Linked DNA regions of Homo sapiens: all the other regions are linked to region 1. The links are contacts of gene promoters, found by promoter capture Hi-C in blood cells and fetal thymus (Javierre and others, 2016). All regions are on one chromosome and are shown on one strand. The core of a region is centred on a gene start or on the middle of the fragment in contact, and the rest is flanking DNA. Distances in the headings are between cores, read along the strand shown.

What was found. The method cuts DNA at HindIII sites, captures the fragments that hold promoters and counts their contacts. A CHiCAGO score of 5 or more calls a contact.
Region 2: a fragment that was not itself captured here is called in contact with the fragment with the promoter of USP1 in region 1 in 8 of 17 cell types (non-activated CD4 T cells, naive CD4 T cells, total CD4 T cells and 5 more); the score reaches 8.1 in non-activated CD4 T cells.
Region 3: a fragment that was not itself captured here is called in contact with the fragment with the promoter of USP1 in region 1 in 2 of 17 cell types (fetal thymus and neutrophils); the score reaches 8.2 in fetal thymus.
Region 4: a contact is called between the fragment with the promoter of OMA1 here and the fragment with the promoter of USP1 in region 1, in 1 of 17 cell types (total B cells). The highest score is 6.1, in total B cells.
Region 5: a contact is called between a fragment that was not itself captured here and the fragment with the promoter of USP1 in region 1, in 2 of 17 cell types (naive CD4 T cells and total CD8 T cells). The highest score is 6.5, in naive CD4 T cells.
Region 6: a contact is called between the fragment with the promoter of JUN here and the fragment with the promoter of USP1 in region 1, in 1 of 17 cell types (total CD8 T cells). The highest score is 6.4, in total CD8 T cells.

What each region holds. Positions count from the first base shown.
Region 1 is chr1:62,435,522-62,438,672 of GRCh38, reverse strand. It overlaps USP1 (ubiquitin specific peptidase 1), which reads right to left and starts at 1,624. Exons shown (of 9, transcript NM_003368.5): 1 at 1,273-1,624. RefSeq lists a silencer at 968-1,027 and enhancers at 1,728-1,797, 1,622-2,389, 2,358-2,707, 2,390-3,151. The HindIII fragment of the contact is 3,360 bases long and covers 1-3,028 here.
Region 2 is chr1:67,426,566-67,429,716 of GRCh38, reverse strand. The region is part of intron 1 of SERBP1 (SERPINE1 mRNA binding protein 1); the gene reads left to right. Among named protein-coding and RNA genes, the nearest start is that of SERBP1, 2.3 kb to the left of the region's middle. RefSeq lists an enhancer at 142-778. The HindIII fragment of the contact is 686 bases long and covers 1,235-1,920 here.
Region 3 is chr1:66,932,762-66,935,912 of GRCh38, reverse strand. All of the region lies in intron 2 of MIER1 (MIER1 transcriptional regulator), which reads right to left. Among named protein-coding and RNA genes, the nearest start is that of MIER1, 9.3 kb to the right of the region's middle. The HindIII fragment of the contact is 1,149 bases long and covers 860-2,008 here.
Region 4 is chr1:58,545,144-58,548,294 of GRCh38, reverse strand. It overlaps OMA1 (OMA1 zinc metallopeptidase), which reads left to right and starts at 1,569. Exons shown (of 9, transcript NM_145243.5): 1 at 1,569-1,592. It also overlaps a transcript of DAB1 not described here. RefSeq lists enhancers at 1,131-1,320, 1,534-2,160 and silencers at 1,721-1,820, 1,831-1,920. The HindIII fragment of the contact is 5,811 bases long and covers 1-2,396 here.
Region 5 is chr1:58,696,099-58,699,249 of GRCh38, reverse strand. The region is part of intron 1 of MYSM1 (Myb like, SWIRM and MPN domains 1); the gene reads left to right. Among named protein-coding and RNA genes, the nearest start is that of MYSM1, 2.4 kb to the left of the region's middle. The HindIII fragment of the contact is 2,412 bases long and covers 444-2,855 here.
Region 6 is chr1:58,782,367-58,785,517 of GRCh38, reverse strand. It overlaps JUN (Jun proto-oncogene, AP-1 transcription factor subunit), which reads left to right and starts at 1,471. Exons shown (of 1, transcript NM_002228.4): 1 at 1,471-3,151. The coding sequence starts at 2,448. It overlaps JUN-DT (JUN divergent transcript), which reads right to left and starts at 367. Exons shown (of 2, transcript NR_108106.1): 1 at 213-367. RefSeq lists enhancers at 280-1,025, 1,252-1,511, 1,026-1,773 and a silencer at 3,032-3,111. The HindIII fragment of the contact is 7,855 bases long and covers 1-3,151 here.

The sequences.
Region 1 (3,151 bases), core at 375-2,874:
CATCAGGCCTATTTTTCAGGACATGGGAGGAAAAATTATCTGACTAGAGTATTACCATAAAATTACTTAAAGCCCAAAACTTCAGCAACGAGTTTCAAATTTAAAATGCAGAGTAATAAAATGAACTACACAAGACTCACTCAAATTTCATCCTTAATAAGCATTTCACATGGCTGACACTGATCTAGGAATTCATACTGAACTCAGCACACTGAAACCATTTCTGAGACCCAAATCAGGAAGCACTGGAAAGCTGATCCATCTCTCCATTCTGTCTCCAACTTCACTTACTCTCCTGTCTACCTAATGCTTCTGAGGAAGCGCTGTCTTCTGAATGATAAACCAACCTGCGCTAAGTTCTCAGGGATCGCCAAGCATTAATGATTCTGATAAAAGGTTTTTCTCGAGAGCCAATTTAATGGATGACAGAAACTGGATCTCAAACCGACAGAGTAACCAGACTACACAGAAGGGAAGAATGATTAGGCAGGTGAAATAGCGGATCGTCAGCTTAATCAAAAAACCAAACCTCCTAGCCCCTCAAAGCAAAGCTCACACCGAGAATGTAACATTTTGCCAGGTGCAGTATCTTCCTTGCTATTTCTTGCTCCTGGCTTTCCTTGTAACTGGGGGGCTGTTACATCCAAAATATTTCTCCTGTAACTAAATCAACTTTCGCAGAAAGCACGACGAATCGACCATTATCTGTTGACAGCGTGAACACTCAGTCCCAATAGTTTTAAATTCTTTATAAGATGACACGACTCGATTCCGATTTTTCAACAAAAATCTACAAGGACATCTTCGCCAAGGTTTAAGACACGCGGCGTTCTAAACACTTCTTGAAAAAGTGTAAGTGAAAGAAAATGCGCGGTAAAATTTCGCAATTACCGACACAGGGCAACCTGCGTGGAAACGTTTCTTTCTCCCCATCCTTCACCGCTCTCGGGAACGGAAAGAAAGCTGGAAGGACGAGCAGCGACCAGGCTGCCCGGTCGGGGGAGGCTGGCGGCGGCGTCCTCGGCCCACACCCCCGCGCCGGGCGCCCTCGCCGCGGAGTTGGCCTATTTACGCCCAGCCCGCACCTGCCTTCTCGCGTCCCGGCGGCGGCAAGACAGGCGCCACGCCCGAGGCACACACGGCTCCCCCTGGCAGGTCGACCAGGGTGCGAGGCCAACACGGTCCCGGGGTCTCCCCGGCAGCTCCTCTCCCGCGCCGGCCGAACTTGCCCCCGCGCCCGGGAGCCGGCCCCTCCTCCCAGGCCCTCCTTACCTGGTCATGGCCCAAAGCGAAGTCCGCGGCGGTGACGCCGGCAAGTCCAACCCGAATGAGTGTGGGTGCGACAGGTGAGTCCCTGCCCCGAGCCCGCCGGGTCCCCGGCCCCAGGAAAATCTGGTCGGCTCGCCCTCCCCGCGGGGGAGTGACCATCCGCTCCCAAGAGCGGGAACCCCGACCGCCGCTCGCTCCCGTCTTGCACCAACACCAACTACATCCCGGGAGCGGCGCCCATCTGCGCCCGCCCCGGGAGAGCCAGGAGCGCAACAAGCAGCGGCCCCGCTCGCCGAACGCCTGAACCGCTAGGGTCTTTAGCACTCCGCCACCGAGGGGAACTTGGCGCGTTTTCCTCAGTCTCAGGACCCCCGTGTTTTAGCCTCCGCCCGCGCCAGCGCTGCGATTGAACGTGGCGTCCTTTGAAATTGCCGGTTCCAGTCTCCACGCTGCAGAGACACGAAAGGCAGGAGCCGTCTCGCGACGGCCACTCGCCCCTGGCACGCACGGGCTCCGGAGCCAGCTGGGACTGTAGTTCCCCAAAAGCCTAACGGGTTCCACAGTTTCAAACAACGCAGGCACAGAGCCGGGCAGCTCGTGCGGGTCCTCGCTGAGGGCGCGCGCGAGGTGCTAGCGGCCTGGCTGGCGGGCTCGAGCCTCACACCCTTTTTTTAACCATTCGTGCGCGCGAGTTGAGGGAAAAGCGTACGGGTCGGGAGACGGGACAGAGAGCAGACGGGATGGGCCACCACCTCGAGAAGGAGCCCAAATTCACCAATCCATGATGAACAATCCCCAAAACCGCGCCTCCCACCGCCCGGGGGAAGCCAATCAGAAGTACCTAGACCAAAGCCAATTAGATGGGCGGGAGCAGCAAGCCCATCTAATAGCAAAAAAGAAGAAAGGTGGGCTCCAGCCAATCATTGTTCGACATACGGAGTGTTCCTCAGGCGCGGTGCCCCTCCTTCCGCTCTCATTGGCGCTCGAGTGCGCGCTTTCGCTGCCGACTGTTAAAATCTTGTTTGGCGTTTTGTTAATCCTCGACGGTGGGACGCCGCGGAGGGTGCGGCTTCCGGAGCGAGGCCCTCGCGGTAAGCCCCGCCTCCGTTCGTGCGTACGCGCCCGGGCGGGGTTACCAAGAGAGCAGCTTCGGAAAATGGCTGCCCGGCTGGACGCCGCCGCGCTTGGGCTTTCAGTTCGGAGTCGCGGCCACACTAGGCCTAGGGCCATCCAATGAGACAAGGCGCTGCCACGGATAACAATACATGCTCAGGCGAATGCTGTAGAGCTGAGGCCCGGTCCTCAGCCCCTGCTCGCCTCATTTTCGCCTGTTTACCTCTTCCCTTTCTCGGCCGCAGGAGGAAACGAAAGAACAGTTTCAGGCCCAGCTCCGGCCGCGGGAGCTTCCCAGGGTTCCCGCGCGAGCCCTCCCAAAGGGTTCAGGAGCGGCAGGCAGGCCTCATCTGGTTGTGTGCTTCCTTTTGTGTTTGTGTGCCTGCTTTGGTGAGGTGACCTCAGCTCAAGTGCTGCAGTTAAGCAGGATACGTTCAGCCCAAATCCATTTAATCAAGTATTTTTAAGGTGCCTACTATGTGCCAGGCATTTTTCAAGGCGCGAGGGATGTAAAGGCATTCCCTGTCATAAAGGAGCATTACATTCTGGAGAGGGAGATACAAGTGACGCTAAGATAAGTGATAGATACGATAGCCTGGAAAGACCTCTTTGAGTTGACATTTGAGCAGAGCTGAATGAAAAAGCTTGGAGGAATCTGAGGGAAGAATGGTGCGGGCAGAGAGAACAGCAAGTTACAAACGTCCTGAAGCTTAATGTGGTTGGTGTTTTGAAAAGAAGCAAGGAGGCCAGGGCGCTTAGAGCGCAGTCA
Region 2 (3,151 bases), core at 328-2,827, 5.0 Mb before region 1:
TCGAGCGCGCTCGAGGTCCTGGGAGGCTGTTGCCTTCCCGCCGGATTCCTTGGCGGGTGAGCGCATGGACTGAGGTGCGGGGAAGCCGGCCCCTCACCGAAGCTTTCCGTAGTTACGGAGGAGCTTGGGGGTCCATCGCTGCTTACTGCGCAGAGCTGCTCCTTTGAGGTGCTGTTGTTTCAGGCTCCTGTCCTGCCGTCTTGTCCCACGACGGCGCGGAGTATCCCCGCTGAAAAGCAGGGGGTCGTTCCAGGCCATCAGACGTGTGGAGTAAGCTGCAGGTTGGGGTGCCGCATGTCCTTTATTTGTTTCTCTTCCACCTCTCAACTGTTAGGACTTTCTCATAACTTGCTGGGGTGAGTTGAGCCGTTGGGAAATGGAGGAGTTTGGCCACACTCGATTAACCAGGAGCGGGAATTATGAATGAAGACTGGTGATTGCAGGACATCCCGAGGAACGTCCTCGAGTCACGATCCTCTCTCTCGACTCCCCAAACTGAATCTTTCACGTGGTGGGGTCTGGGCCTCGTGGGTGAAGTGAGTGCAGAGGCTGTCACAGCGTTAGTCGCAGCAGAGCTCTTTAGAGTTCGCAGTTTTTTTTTTCCACCACATGTGCGTGAAGCATGGTCAGAGTTTCACTGGCGGTTAATAGTTGTTTCTAGGGCACTGTGAGTTTCACAGGATTGTCTTGATTTTTGCATTCGCTTTACCAGTTTGTTGCGGATGAAAAAAAAGAGCAAGCAGTTTGGAGATAAGAACGTGCATGATCAATAGCAAGCAGGTGTTGGACCTAAGGTCTGAATCTTTAAAGCTGCATTTATATGTTGAAAGTTGAAATTACCCCTTCCTGCCACGTGCTTCTCTGAAAGGAGTTGTTTCTCTTTAGCTTTAGTTGAATTCTGTAACAGTGAACTAATTTTAAAAATCAAAACAATTTTCTCGTGGTAGGATTTGTTTTAGGAGGGTTTTTTTTTTTTTTTTTGAGGACTTTTGTGAGGCTCGGAATGAAGAACCTCGGTCCTAGGTGGTGAATAAAAGAAAATAATTAATTCTTGTGGTAAAATTATAGGTTGAGGAAAAATACAGTTGGAGTATTAGAAAGCATGTATATCACTTAGGCCAAGTATCTCTTCAGCCAGTTAAGCTTTATGGCAATCTAGCACAATTAAATAAATCATTTAATTCGTGTGTTAAGTAACGCTGACTTGTGTAATTATTTAAACTATGCTTAAGCTTAAGAAAGTACACGAAAAAGTTGAATCTGACGAATAATGTGTACCAGGTAGATGTGTTCACTCATTTTGAATGTTCAAAACATGAAGCATGGTTTAAATGCCTGAGTTATTTTGATCATGAAGCCCATCTATGAAATAAGCTCTTACCTGAAAAGTAGTATTTTAAGTTAACAAATGTGGGGAATGATTTCATGAAGTTAGAACCAAGACTTAGGTTCACCGTTCAATGAGTCTTTCCATGGGAAAACTATTCCATGTTAGCAATCAGCATTTTCCTTAGGTCAGTATTTCAGAGCACTACTGTTAAGTTGCATAAAATACAAGCATGTAAAATACAGGAAAAGTGTTGAATGGACAATACCCGTTTTGAGATTCTACTGTCCTGATTACTGGGAATAAATCTGTAAACAAAGTCGCTGCATGTAGTAGGAAGGTTAACCTGATTGTGTTCTGTGATTTTGATAACACATTGTGACATAATACTTGACATACTTTAGACAGATATTTAATGTTTATGTTTTATGAATTAATTTTGTACATTCTCTTGCCCATTTGAAGAACTTGAGAATTGACAGCAGAATGTCATTGAGAGTGTAGACCAGGGATTTTCTAAAAAAGAATGAATGCCTTGAAACTAGTGCAGTTAGTGAGCTTGCAAGTTATAGATAAGTATATCAAAAGAAGCTTGCATTTTTAAATGTCAGTCTTTTTCATTAGGTAGGTTTAATACGTTTTTAAGATTCTGTAAACTTGATATTGGGTGGGGACGCCAACTATTGTTCACTTGGGTGTGTTTGGCTTGGATATTATTGCAAGGACTGGTTCCATAACTCCACCCCAGTGCACTTTATTACTGATGACATTTATTTAAATACCTTGGTGTAAGGTCTAATATTTGTAGTCTATCTTGAGTATTTACAGGGAATGAACTTCAAAATTCTATTGAAGAGATTGATAGTTACTGTTTGGCTCCAGTTAACAGGCAGCAGAACAACTGGGTGTGTCTTGATGGTGTTCTACTTTCTTAGAAAGAACCAAAGTGAAGCAGCTTAAAATCTTGTAAAACCAATTCCTCAGCTGCTTTATGACTTTGTCAGAAATTGGGAATTAGAGCATACCAACAATCTTAAAGTCATTAATTTAACCATCAATCTGTTGATCCTTATGGGCACCAATAATTTAAATTGGTTGCCTTTGTGGGGTTTCAGACATTACAGGAAAAAAGTAGTAAAGGGGGAAATTAGTAAATGCTTCAGCTATCACTTAGTGTCACAAGTTTTCTTATTTCTTACATGTTGCTTAAAAGCGGTCTTAACGTGTGTGTATTTGGTTTTTAAAGATTCTTTGAAAATAAAGATAGTTGTTAGGGCAAATTTTTTAGAGGACTCTCTCCATGCATAATAAGTAACTGTTTCCTAACTTGGAAGTACTTAGGGATGTGGGAGTGTGTACAAACATATATACACTTACATGCTATAAAATTTTAAACTTTAATAGGGGAAGATGGCCCTTTTTGTGTGCCTGTAGCTAAGAAGACCAAAAGATGACACTTTTTCTGGTTAAATGGCTGTTTTAAACTGAAGTGATGTTCTCTAATAATCCTAAATGCCATATTTTCCTTTCAGATTTGTAATTTTATAGAATTATGAGTCTTAATTGCATTTTTTTTTCAGATTAGATAGAATAACATAGTGCGGCCCTCACTTTTGTGAGGGGCCATATCTAGTGAGTGTGTTGATTTGCTTGGTTATTTATGAATGGCTGCTGGTATTTTCTTTGGTATTTTAAAAGCCAAAATGTATTGCTTGCCTAAAATTTTTTAAATTTAAAAGTTTTTATTAAGAGACTATCTTGGAAAGTGACGGGAATAATGGTTGCCCAAATGATTTCCAAGTCAGTTATAGAAAATGCTTTTGA
Region 3 (3,151 bases), core at 185-2,684, 4.5 Mb before region 1:
CATAGTTCTTCCATACATAGTTCTTCCAAACAATAGAACACTATGACTCCATTAAAAATAGAGATATCTGTTTGTGTTGATAGAGAAATAAATGCCAAAAAAAATTAGGAGTATAAAGAAAACTGTAGAACAGGGCGTAAACTGGGCTGGAATATGAAATAATATGGAATAAATTTTTTTTCCTCAAAAGGACATACAAGAACCTGTTAACAATAGTTACCTCTAGGGAATGGGGTCAGGGAGAAGAGGCTTTTTTCATTTAATACCTTTCTGTACTGTTGAAATTTTCTAACCACTTTCATGTACTATGCATTCTTTCTTAAAATGAAAGTCACTGGGAACTGATTATCTTGTGGAATTATGAGACATTTTCATTTTCTTCCTCTAAATTTTGATTTTTAAGAAAACCTAGTACTTGTTACTATTTTTTAAGCTGTAATTTTGAAAAATTCAGTGTTTTAGGGGGTACATATTTATCTTATCTGAGATGGAAAACAACACTAGAGAGACAGAAAGACTGTACACAGAGTATGAATGGGCTAAAACAAATTAAAAACAAACTCTAGCAACTTTTATAGCAAGTTGACCCTCACCCACATATTTGTATGATTTAGTTGATAAAATTGCTAATAGTTGTAACGAATATTCAATGCCTCAGATTTGCTGAAATAATTCTCTTTTATATTTTTCTAGAACATGGTGGGAAATGTCCCATACAACAGAAGACTATAATTTGAGAGAGAGTAAAGAAATAACTAACTACAACATTACCATTATTTTCACCAAAAAAACCCTAACAACAACATAGTAAAAACATGAAGTAATTACTAGATTTTTTTATTCCAGGCAATCAAAAGCTTATTTGCAATGAGTATTACCGTCTGAACAAATTTTTCCCCTCAAAACAATTCTACCACCATTTCTTTTAAGTATTGCCGTCATCTACTTAGTTATGTAGACTCTAAGTCAGAGATTCTCACAGCAATGGAGATGGGGATAGAAGCCTGGAAAGAGGGGTCCTACTTTAGGGTGAAAGATGGTTACCGTGCCAAGGGCTGGCTCACCATCCCTCTCCTCCAATAAAATTAAGTTACTTAACTTTGTTATTACTCTCAGGAATTCTGGGGTATAAAAAGGTTAAGAATGTACTGAAATTAAAATTAGCAATTTACTACAGTATTAATAATTCAGAAGTAAAATGATATCATAGAAAATAAGGACTGGGAACAGTGGCACACGCCTATAATCCCAGCACAAGACAGGAGGATCACTTAAGGCCAGAAGCTCGAGACCAGTCTGATCAACATATCGAGACCCTGTCTCCACAAAAAAAAAAAAAAGCCGGGCATGATGGCACATGCCTATAGTCCCAGCTACTTGAGAGGCTCTGAGGGAAGGATTGATCACCTGAGCCCAGGAGTTTGAGGTTGTAGTGAGCTATGATTTGCGCCACTGCACTCCAGCCTGGGCAACAGAGAGAGACCCTGTCTCAAAAAAAAAAAAAAAAGAAAGAAAGAAAAAGAAAATAAGCACTAGGAATCTAGGAATACAGAAGGCTGGGTTCCAGTCTAAACTGTGCCATAGATGAATTGCACGACCTAGGACAAACTACGTAAACTCTCTGCTCACTTTCATTTTCTCTATGATCAAAAGATTTAGATTTCTTCAAGACCTAACTTTACTTTTATTATAAATTGCTCTAGAAACCTAACACTACTAAGGAGTATGCAGCTAAATGCATGGGATATGTTTAAATTTATTTTTTTAAATCTAGGACTGTTAAAAAAATCTCAATTTGCAAAAACAATTTTTTGGGGTGCTACTTCATGAATTTCATACCTACATAATAAGTTATTGTTCTAAGCCACAGAATAAGACAAACAGAACAAGCCCCAAGCAATGACTGGTACTTGAACAATTTAATCACTGCAATGAATTTTGAATGAACATCAAGCCAGGCAGGCATTTCTAGATAGCTGATTACTTTTCATAAAGACATGCTTAAGCTTCAATGGCAGTGTTTTATTTCTGAATTATTTAGAAAACTGGTTAGTCTCACTTACCAGAATTATCTTAAAGTAATTCACTTGTTTCTCCCACCAAACCTTTCCCACCTATTAAAGTACCCTAACTCTTAACTGCCAATGAATTAAGATTTTTAGGACTCTCACGCACTGGTGATCTTGACTACTTTTAAAATCTTAATAGCTCTGAAGTATAAACATGAAAAAAAATTCATTATTAGTGTCGAGAATTATTTGAAGCTTAAATTCACTGCAGTGAAACACATTTTGCTTAGAGTAGAAATTAATGTTTTCATAAGTAACATTTAACATAATCCTTCGTTAAAAAAATCCAAATACACTCAAAAAATACTAAGCAAGGAGTCCATTTTAAAGAGAAATGGATAGGTGTGAAAGTGAATAAACAGATTATATACCCTCTTTGAAAGTACTAAAATACTTAAATAGAAAGAAGCAAATCCATTAATTTTCTCTTTATATCACAGAAATGTGGCCTAGGTGAAAAGACAGGTCTTGAATTGTCCATGGATTTTTTTCCTTGAGAAGAAAGTCCCTTACGTGTTTACAAACGCTAAAATACAAGACAAATTGTTCGTTCCCAAAGGTCCCTAGTACATTCCTTATAAAACCCAAAGGATTAACTATTTCTTCCTCTCATTTTTTCTCTCATTTTCCTCTTATTTTTGCAGTTAGTAAAACTGCAACTATCCTGTAATTTCCTTCAAGTGTGACTAGGAGAGCGTCCTTTTAGAAGGTTGGTAAATAATTTTAAGGGATAATAAGCAATGAGAAATATTGCCAAAAAGTATTAAGCAAGGGAGCATATGCTATTTATTCTAAGTACATTAAATACGGCTTTAATGTTATCACAACTGAAGAACCAATATATACTTCCTATTATGGACTAAGATAATCAGATCAAATATAAAAAATTAGTATATCCTATTCTCATCTAAAGCACTTTCTATTCAAGAATTAAATATTTTTCTGGAAAAACATGGTCAGGGTCATGCTCTTGTAGGAAGCATCAATTTTTTTTTTTAAAAGCCCAGAAGCATAATACCTACATTTTTCTCTGGAGACATACTTCTTCAATAACCTGTTTTCCCCCTCAGATTTAACAAATA
Region 4 (3,151 bases), core at 320-2,819, 3.9 Mb after region 1:
CTAAGTGTGGGGGCTTATGGGGATCAGGTAATAAGCAGAGTCCTGGATAATGTCCAGCTTACAGTGGGTCCAGGAATACACTGACCCATCCAGTAGTCATTTTCTTAGTTCCTGAGTGCATAATTGGGAGTACATATTGGGCAGCTGGAGCAATCTCCACATTGGTAAGAAGCTCAGGGTCCTTGGTCTTGAGTTATCATGGTGGGGAAAGCCAATGGGAAGCCTCTGAAGCTGTCCTTCTTTCCAAGTGAAGATAATAAATCAAAACCGATATTTCATCTGAGGGGATAGTGAGATGATGGTGGAGATTAATGTCATAATTAAAGACCTGAAATATACAAGAGTGGTTGGTCATCCCTGCCATATCTCTACTTAACTTGCCAGTCTGGCCCCTTTGGAAATCAGGTGGACCCAGGATAATGACATAATGGCTCTGCGCAGTCCAAAAGGAGCTGGATCAACTGGAAATTCCAGAGAACATCACACCCATCTATTTCACCAATGACATTATGCTAACCAGGCAAGATGAGCAAGAGGTGGCTAGCATGCTGGAAACTTTGGTAAGACATGTGCACTCCAGAGTTTGGGAGATAAACCCTACGAAGACTGAAGGACCTCCTACTTCAGTTTTTAGGGGTCCAGTTGTCAGGGGTTTTCCAGGATATCCCTTTCAAAGTAAAAGGCAAATCATAAAATACACATAAGATAAACGAAACAGTAACTTACACATTTTCCAAAAGAGATACCTAAAATTGTTCATAGTGTTTATGTCCTTTGACATAGTGTTTATGTCCTTTGAGATGTTTTCATTGTGCACAGAGTGTAAACATAATAAACTAATATGAGACCTCACTACTCATCCATCACAATCCAGTGTTTATTTGTACTGGCTTATTTGTACACTTTTATTTATTTGTGTTTATTTGTACACTTTTTTTTAATCGCCTGTCTTTCCTCACTGTGATATAAAGTTCACGAAATTCAGGTCTGTCTTGTTCACTGCTACATCCTTGGCACTTAAAATGTAGTTGATGCTCAAGAAATATGTTTTGGTGAAATGAATGAAACATACTATACACATAATTTTGGAGCCAGCTACTTTAACCTCCAGACACTTAAGATTATACTTCATCTTTCTTAAAATGCGTCCCTCCAAAAATCATATGAAAGCACTGTTCCCATACTCCAAAGACTATTTCTATGAATGCAGATTCAGAACCAGGAAGCCTTCGTCTTTTGGCAGTCTTCGAGTCTCTTCCCTTTTGGCCGGTACTGCCGTAGAGACTACAACGGACACAGCCTTGCGTGGATCATTCTTTAGAGGACCCAACTCACCAAAGACGGGAGAAAGTTGTTCCTAGGCAAGCAGCCCAGCCCAGGGCCATGTCCCGCCTTAAGCCACACGGAGGCGCTAGAGCGCCACAGTCTCCGCGGGGCCCGGGGCAGCTGGGAGAACGACTCTGGGCGGCTGTATTGACTGCCGGGTGTGGGCGGAGCGAAGGGCGCCCCGGCCGGTATGGCGGGCAGGAAGTGCGGGTGCGCGCCTGCGCATAGGTCGGGTCTGCGGTGTCACCGCTTTCGCTTCTGCTTGAGTCAGTCCTCACGGTGACGCTTTTCCCCAGCTTTTCCGAGTAGGATCGTGCCCAGGGGAGGAGGCAGAGTGCGGCAGTGGGGAGGGGGCGGAGCGCAGAGCGCCTGCGGGGGCGCCCGGGCAAGGAGTGGGGATCCTTGGGGATGGGGGTACGGGAGGAGGCGTGGGTGGGCGATAAGGCTGCGTGGAGGGGAGGGGCGGGGGGCGCCGGGGCGGGAGACGGAGGGGATCTGTCCTGGGGGAGCCCGGTTCTCCCCTAGCCTTGCCCGGGGCACGCCGGTGACCCCGTGTGTCTGCCCCGTGGCAGTACTTTCGTGGGCCGCCTGCCCTCCCCCTCAGCCCGCCCTTATCCGCGGCTCCGCTTTCAGAGCAGGGTTTCTCACCCGCGGGGCTTCGGGCTCCTCACCCGGCACCTCTGCCAGAGGGGACCGCCTCCCGGCGCGTCGGGCATTCGTCTCTTTCACCCCTTCCCTCTTCAGGAGAAACTGAACACGTTTTCCAGCCTAAACTCGGCAGGGCAAACCAGAACATTCCCCGTCTAAGCAGTTCCGGGGAGTTTTAACAATTTCCTCGTAAACTCGTCTACAGAACTCACTGTATACTGTTTAAATGTCGCCTGTGTGTGGAGCAACAGTTTTATTGTGCCGTGCAATCCTCAACAAGAAATTGTAGTCCAGGGAGATGAAAATCCCTTATTTGGCATTCAGGCGTTGATCAAGGTCGTGCAACCCTCGCTAAAAGGATTTAGGTTCATCTCCGTCATTCTCAGCCGGGGTGAAGGGGTGTAGTCTGACATTTGGAAGCTTAAGAACCAAGTCTGCTGCCGTCCAATTCTTTTTTAAAGCCTTCCATCATGTGTGTACTTTGCTTGAATGATTATTTTAAAGTACATGTCCTATTTTTGCCAATCTGACAGCTGTTTCCATAGAAACTAGAGAAGAAATAGTCATTTTCAGCAAGAGTTGTTAAAACTGTCTTCCAGGCTTCAGCTGTGAGTGCCAGTGAGTGCTGCACTTGCTCATTCGGAGATGGTACTTAAAGAATTAAGGATCTGAAATGTTCGTAGAGGCTAACAATCCAAATTGTTTAATTTTCTCACATCATTAATTTTGTTATCCTAGAAGTCTGCCAGCTATGTTTGTTGACCTGCCACAGCTCTTTGAAGAGAATATGTCAGCCCTGATTTTTTTTTTTCTTATGTGCTCTGTAGTCTAGTGATTGGCTCCTTGAAAATGCATGAATAGATTTCTTCCCTCATTCTTTACCCTTTCTTCAGGATAAACCGGGTATTACAAAATATCAGGCACTGTTTCTATTCAAAACGACACTTGGTTGTCAGTGATAGAAATGATAATGGTTTTAATTATATATGCGTAGTGTTGGGGCTTTTGCTTATACCTTCTGTGTCAATAGGATTCTTTTAAAATTTTTACACAAGTCATGAGAAATGAGAAGGAGTTTGCTTGTCATGTGCAGAGCTAAGCAGTGTGAATAGATGTGCATAGACATAGAGATGAGAGCTTTCTTTTTCTGTGGGGTGTAAGTAAATCAGGGAGTTTG
Region 5 (3,151 bases), core at 400-2,899, 3.7 Mb after region 1:
AGTAAGGGATCACATTTTTTAAAATACCTGTTCCAGCAGAACAAACAGCCCAGTGTGATTTGACACAGAACCTCCTTTGACTCCTTGCTTTCTGAATCAAAAATGAGTCTCCTTTTAGTCATGAAGAGTCCTAGACTAGCCAGGAATCAGAAAGCCTGAGTTCTAAAGTCAGCCAGCTATGTTGTTTATAATTATGTACAATTTCCTTAGAACTGTATTAGCTTGAACCATATGAAATTGCCAATATTTAGACCATTTTTGTTCTATAAAGCGGCAACTTCATGTAGTTCAGCCTAATATTAGGGCCTCTGTGAACAGGGGAGAAGTACTAACCCAGCGCTTGAGGCACTAAGATAGTGTGTTTAGAAGTGTATCATGAACTCTAAAGCCCTATAAAGACGTGAGGGGTGATTAAACTCATATGGTCATTGTCCCTCAAAGCTTTGCAGATGAGTAGGGAGCCCTTAATAACAATACTTGTTGACATTCATTTAGTGTTTAAATCTTGACCAAGTGCTTTTGCATGTTTGATTTAATTTACTTTTCGCAACAAGTTAATGAAATAGGTTGGCAGGGATACTTATCTGCAGTCTAGAAAGAAATGAGCTGGCCTTGGAAACACTGAAGATTGGTCACCTGAGGGCATTGGCTGTATGCTTCTTCCATAGATTTATCTTTCTGATTGTGTTTCATTTTTCCCCTTTTCTCTTTCTTCCTATTTTAGTTGAGGCCTAGGTCTACTGGTGGCACTTGTGGTAACAAGCAGGATTACAAAGGTTATTGGTTCCTGATGATGGTTACAATTATTGTCTTATACAACCCCAAGGAGTATCATTAATATTATATTCTGGGCCAGGCATGGTGGCTCACGCCTGTAATCCCAGCACTTTGGGAGACCGAGGCGGGCAGATCACGAGGTCAGGAGATCGAGACCATCCTGGCTAACACGGTGAAACCCCATCTCTACTAAAAATACAAAAAATTAGCTGGGCGTGGTGGTGGGCGCCTGTAGTCCCAGGTACTTGGGAGGCTGAGGCAGGAGAATGGCGTGAACCCGGGAGGCAGAGCTTGCAGTGAGCGGAGATCACGCCACCGCACTCCAGCCTGGGCAACAGAGCGAGACTCTGTCTCAAAAAAAAAAAAAAAATATATATATATATATATAGTCTGATAAATAGTGTCCAGTGGTGTTGGAGCTCCAACCGTATGGAATTTAGTGTGATGGTACTCTCTGAAGTATGTAGTTACAGTTGATATTATAGCATCTGTGAAACCGTTGAGAATTAATTTAATAGACACTTTTAAGCACTTGGTAAGTGCTAGATGTCAAAGTTAGAAGATGGTATTGAAACTTTTGGGTTGGCTGGGTGCGGTGGCTCATGCCTGTAATCCCAGCACTTTGGGAGGCCAAGGCGGGCGGATCACCTGAGGTTGGGAGTTCGAGATCAGCCTGACCAACATGGAGAAACCCCGTCTCTACTAAAAATACAAACTTAGCCAGGCATGGTGGCACCTGCCTGTAATTGCAGCTACTAGGGAGGCTGAGGCAGGAGAATTGCTTGACCCTGGGAGGTGAAGGTTGCAGTGAGCCGAGATCGCGCCATTGCCCTCTAGCCTGGGCAACAAGAGCAAAACGCCATCTCAAAAAAAAAAAAAAATTTTTTTTTGGTTTCTCTTCTACTTCTACCATTCTGTCTCATTCTCCTTTTCTTATGTTCTTTACTCCTAGTGTTGCAAGGAGTTTTCTCATTGGACTTTGATTCACTGACCACACTGTCCCTCTTAAGACTTCAACTTCTCTTTGTTAGGTTGAACCATATGAAATTTTACCAGTGTTAAACCATTTTTGACCTGCCAGCTGATGTTTCCCGAATCTGTTACCAACCCAGATCTCTCTCTTAAGTGACAGATCCATTTATCCAGTTCTCTGAATCTATCTGTACCTGGATGTCTCACAAGCACCTCAGTTTCACCTTATAAATTTTCCCCACCAGATCTCTTCACTGTACCCTAGTTTAGTAAATGGCACCTACACACACCCAGTCACCCAAAGCACAGACCTAAACTTCATCATTCCTTACCTCCCTCCTTCTACTCCTCTACCCTATCAGTTATTTAGGGCTGTTGATTCTGTCTAAATATCTTCTCAACTGTATTCACTTCTTCCTGTTCACATTGTCCTGTAGCTATAAGTTATTGTCACCTTTCTCTAGTATTTTTAAAATCTCTCCCTCTTAACTGCTCCTCGTCTCCTTGGCCCCATTCTGTTCTAGTCTGAAGTCAGAGTAATCTTTCTTATATCCAGATCTGATCATATTATTCTCTTCACTCCCCAGTTGGTTTTTTGATAAAATCCTCATTCTTTAACTACCAGAGATCTGAGTGATCCACGCCCTACCTACCTTGTTCATTTAGTCCAACAAATTTTTATTGAGTACCTTCTACATGCCATGCACTGATATACAACAGTGTATCAAAACCAAGTCTGTGCTCTCATAGAACATTCTTGTTAGATAACATAGACAGCAATCCTATATATATGTCAGATGGAGATGGGTGGAGAAAGATAAAGGAGGGGAGGTGAATGGTTTGTCAGCTTTATCTTTTACATTTATCCAGGAAAATTATATAAGATTGGAAACTACAGGACCTCAGAGGTAGTATGAAAATACTGGAAGGACTGGATTTGGAAAATGGGAGAAACAGCAGAATTAGGGCAGATTAAATGGGGGTTGTGAAGAAAATGGTCAGGCTTGGATTTCTGGCTTGGATAACTACGGAGATGGTGGTGCCACTGAGTGAGATGGTGAACAATAGAAGAGTAGCAGATTTGGGAGGAAAGGTGATTTCAAGCTTTAAACATGCTAATATGTGGTACCTATGGAGATTCAGGTAGAGATCCAGAAGTAGCTACCAGAGTATGAGTGTTGCTGATTCTTCTTATTGAGGAATAAAAAGATTTCTACAGTGAATTTGAAATGATAGTGGTTCTATTTTCTGAACTCTTGGCAGACCTAGTTACTTGAGCAAAGGTTTCTTTGAGCTGATAAAAGTCTCAGAATCCTTTATTTACCCTTCCTGGTAGCCTCTTCCAGATCATAGTTGACATTTAAGATTAAATCTATTTACCATCAACAGTTGAGAGAAATGA
Region 6 (3,151 bases), core at 222-2,721, 3.7 Mb after region 1:
AGCCCAGTGAGGTGGACGGCACCGGCCCCACCTGCAGATGAGGGAAATGAAGCTCGGAGGAGTTCCGTGATTTGCTTGCTTCACACTGTGGTAGCCTGGCCACGAAAGAACCAGGATTCCCGACTTCGGGATTCTTTCCACCACACACTTTCGTCCCTAAGGGGTGGGGGGCGGGGGGAGAATAAAATAACCGCGGAAAAGGAACCACTTACATGTGTCTAGCGCTTCCTAGAGGCTACCCAGGATATGCGCCCACCACCCGGCCGGGAGTGCAGAGATTTGAAGTCCAGGTTCTACCCCGGGCTCCGAGTACTACTGCGTGACTTTATGCGAGTGTCCGCCGCCTTCTGGGCTTGTTTTCCCGGAAGCAACTCGGCGCGGATGGAGTGTGTGTGTGCGCGCGCGCGCGCGTTATGTTGTGCGTGTTGTGTTAAGCGTGTGCGTGTTGTCCGGGGGCGGGAGGGGGAGTAGACTAACACCGGGGTTCCCCGAGTTTCGGATCGCCTACACGCTTGTTCCCATCTGGACCCTGTTACCCACCAATTGCGCCCACTATAAAAACTGCCCCTCCGAGGCAAAGCTGTGAACCCCCGCGCCCTTTCCCCCACGGTCCCGGAGGATGAAGTGGGGTGCAACGGAGACTCAGCTGAGCGTCCAGTTTCGGGCAATACAAATCTCTCGGCTTCTACGAGCAGCCAGACGACCCCGCGGACCGTCGCTCCTGAACTTGACCGAGATGCAAACTTCGGAGTGTTCTCAACGTGGGGGGCCGACTCTCGGGAGACCGCCCCTAAACTTAAGTCCCCTTAGGCTCGCCCCCACCTGGGACTTCACAGAGCCACCTTAAGGGCGGTATTCCCGCCCCCCCGGAAGTGCGGGGGGGTGGCAGCGTACTTGGATTCTCAGCCTCCAGCCCCGCGCGGTGGCGGCCGCCGGTGGATGACTTCGGGCCCCACAAGTGGGGAAACAACAACCACCCCTCGCCCGCACCCCTGGCCCAAAACAACTGGCCAGGTTCCCTGGCCTCCCGGGTCCCTGCATCCCCCGCATCCCCGTCCGCAGCCGTGAACTTGAGCCCCCCTCCATCAGAGGTTGCGAGCGTCCGCCCGCTCGCGGCAGCCACCGTCACTAGACAGTCAAACCCCAAGACGTCAGCCCACAATGCACCGGGCGGGCCGGGAAAAACGGCCCGGGGAGGGGACCGGGGAAGAGAGGGCCGAGAGGCGTGCGGCAGGGGGGAGGGTAGGAGAAAGAAGGGCCCGACTGTAGGAGGGCAGCGGAGCATTACCTCATCCCGTGAGCCTCCGCGGGCCCAGAGAAGAATCTTCTAGGGTGGAGTCTCCATGGTGACGGGCGGGCCCGCCCCCCTGAGAGCGACGCGAGCCAATGGGAAGGCCTTGGGGTGACATCATGGGCTATTTTTAGGGGTTGACTGGTAGCAGATAAGTGTTGAGCTCGGGCTGGATAAGGGCTCAGAGTTGCACTGAGTGTGGCTGAAGCAGCGAGGCGGGAGTGGAGGTGCGCGGAGTCAGGCAGACAGACAGACACAGCCAGCCAGCCAGGTCGGCAGTATAGTCCGAACTGCAAATCTTATTTTCTTTTCACCTTCTCTCTAACTGCCCAGAGCTAGCGCCTGTGGCTCCCGGGCTGGTGTTTCGGGAGTGTCCAGAGAGCCTGGTCTCCAGCCGCCCCCGGGAGGAGAGCCCTGCTGCCCAGGCGCTGTTGACAGCGGCGGAAAGCAGCGGTACCCACGCGCCCGCCGGGGGAAGTCGGCGAGCGGCTGCAGCAGCAAAGAACTTTCCCGGCTGGGAGGACCGGAGACAAGTGGCAGAGTCCCGGAGCCAACTTTTGCAAGCCTTTCCTGCGTCTTAGGCTTCTCCACGGCGGTAAAGACCAGAAGGCGGCGGAGAGCCACGCAAGAGAAGAAGGACGTGCGCTCAGCTTCGCTCGCACCGGTTGTTGAACTTGGGCGAGCGCGAGCCGCGGCTGCCGGGCGCCCCCTCCCCCTAGCAGCGGAGGAGGGGACAAGTCGTCGGAGTCCGGGCGGCCAAGACCCGCCGCCGGCCGGCCACTGCAGGGTCCGCACTGATCCGCTCCGCGGGGAGAGCCGCTGCTCTGGGAAGTGAGTTCGCCTGCGGACTCCGAGGAACCGCTGCGCACGAAGAGCGCTCAGTGAGTGACCGCGACTTTTCAAAGCCGGGTAGCGCGCGCGAGTCGACAAGTAAGAGTGCGGGAGGCATCTTAATTAACCCTGCGCTCCCTGGAGCGAGCTGGTGAGGAGGGCGCAGCGGGGACGACAGCCAGCGGGTGCGTGCGCTCTTAGAGAAACTTTCCCTGTCAAAGGCTCCGGGGGGCGCGGGTGTCCCCCGCTTGCCACAGCCCTGTTGCGGCCCCGAAACTTGTGCGCGCAGCCCAAACTAACCTCACGTGAAGTGACGGACTGTTCTATGACTGCAAAGATGGAAACGACCTTCTATGACGATGCCCTCAACGCCTCGTTCCTCCCGTCCGAGAGCGGACCTTATGGCTACAGTAACCCCAAGATCCTGAAACAGAGCATGACCCTGAACCTGGCCGACCCAGTGGGGAGCCTGAAGCCGCACCTCCGCGCCAAGAACTCGGACCTCCTCACCTCGCCCGACGTGGGGCTGCTCAAGCTGGCGTCGCCCGAGCTGGAGCGCCTGATAATCCAGTCCAGCAACGGGCACATCACCACCACGCCGACCCCCACCCAGTTCCTGTGCCCCAAGAACGTGACAGATGAGCAGGAGGGCTTCGCCGAGGGCTTCGTGCGCGCCCTGGCCGAACTGCACAGCCAGAACACGCTGCCCAGCGTCACGTCGGCGGCGCAGCCGGTCAACGGGGCAGGCATGGTGGCTCCCGCGGTAGCCTCGGTGGCAGGGGGCAGCGGCAGCGGCGGCTTCAGCGCCAGCCTGCACAGCGAGCCGCCGGTCTACGCAAACCTCAGCAACTTCAACCCAGGCGCGCTGAGCAGCGGCGGCGGGGCGCCCTCCTACGGCGCGGCCGGCCTGGCCTTTCCCGCGCAACCCCAGCAGCAGCAGCAGCCGCCGCACCACCTGCCCCAGCAGATGCCCGTGCAGCACCCGCGGCTGCAGGCCCTGAAGGAGGAGCCTCAGACAGTGCCCGAGAT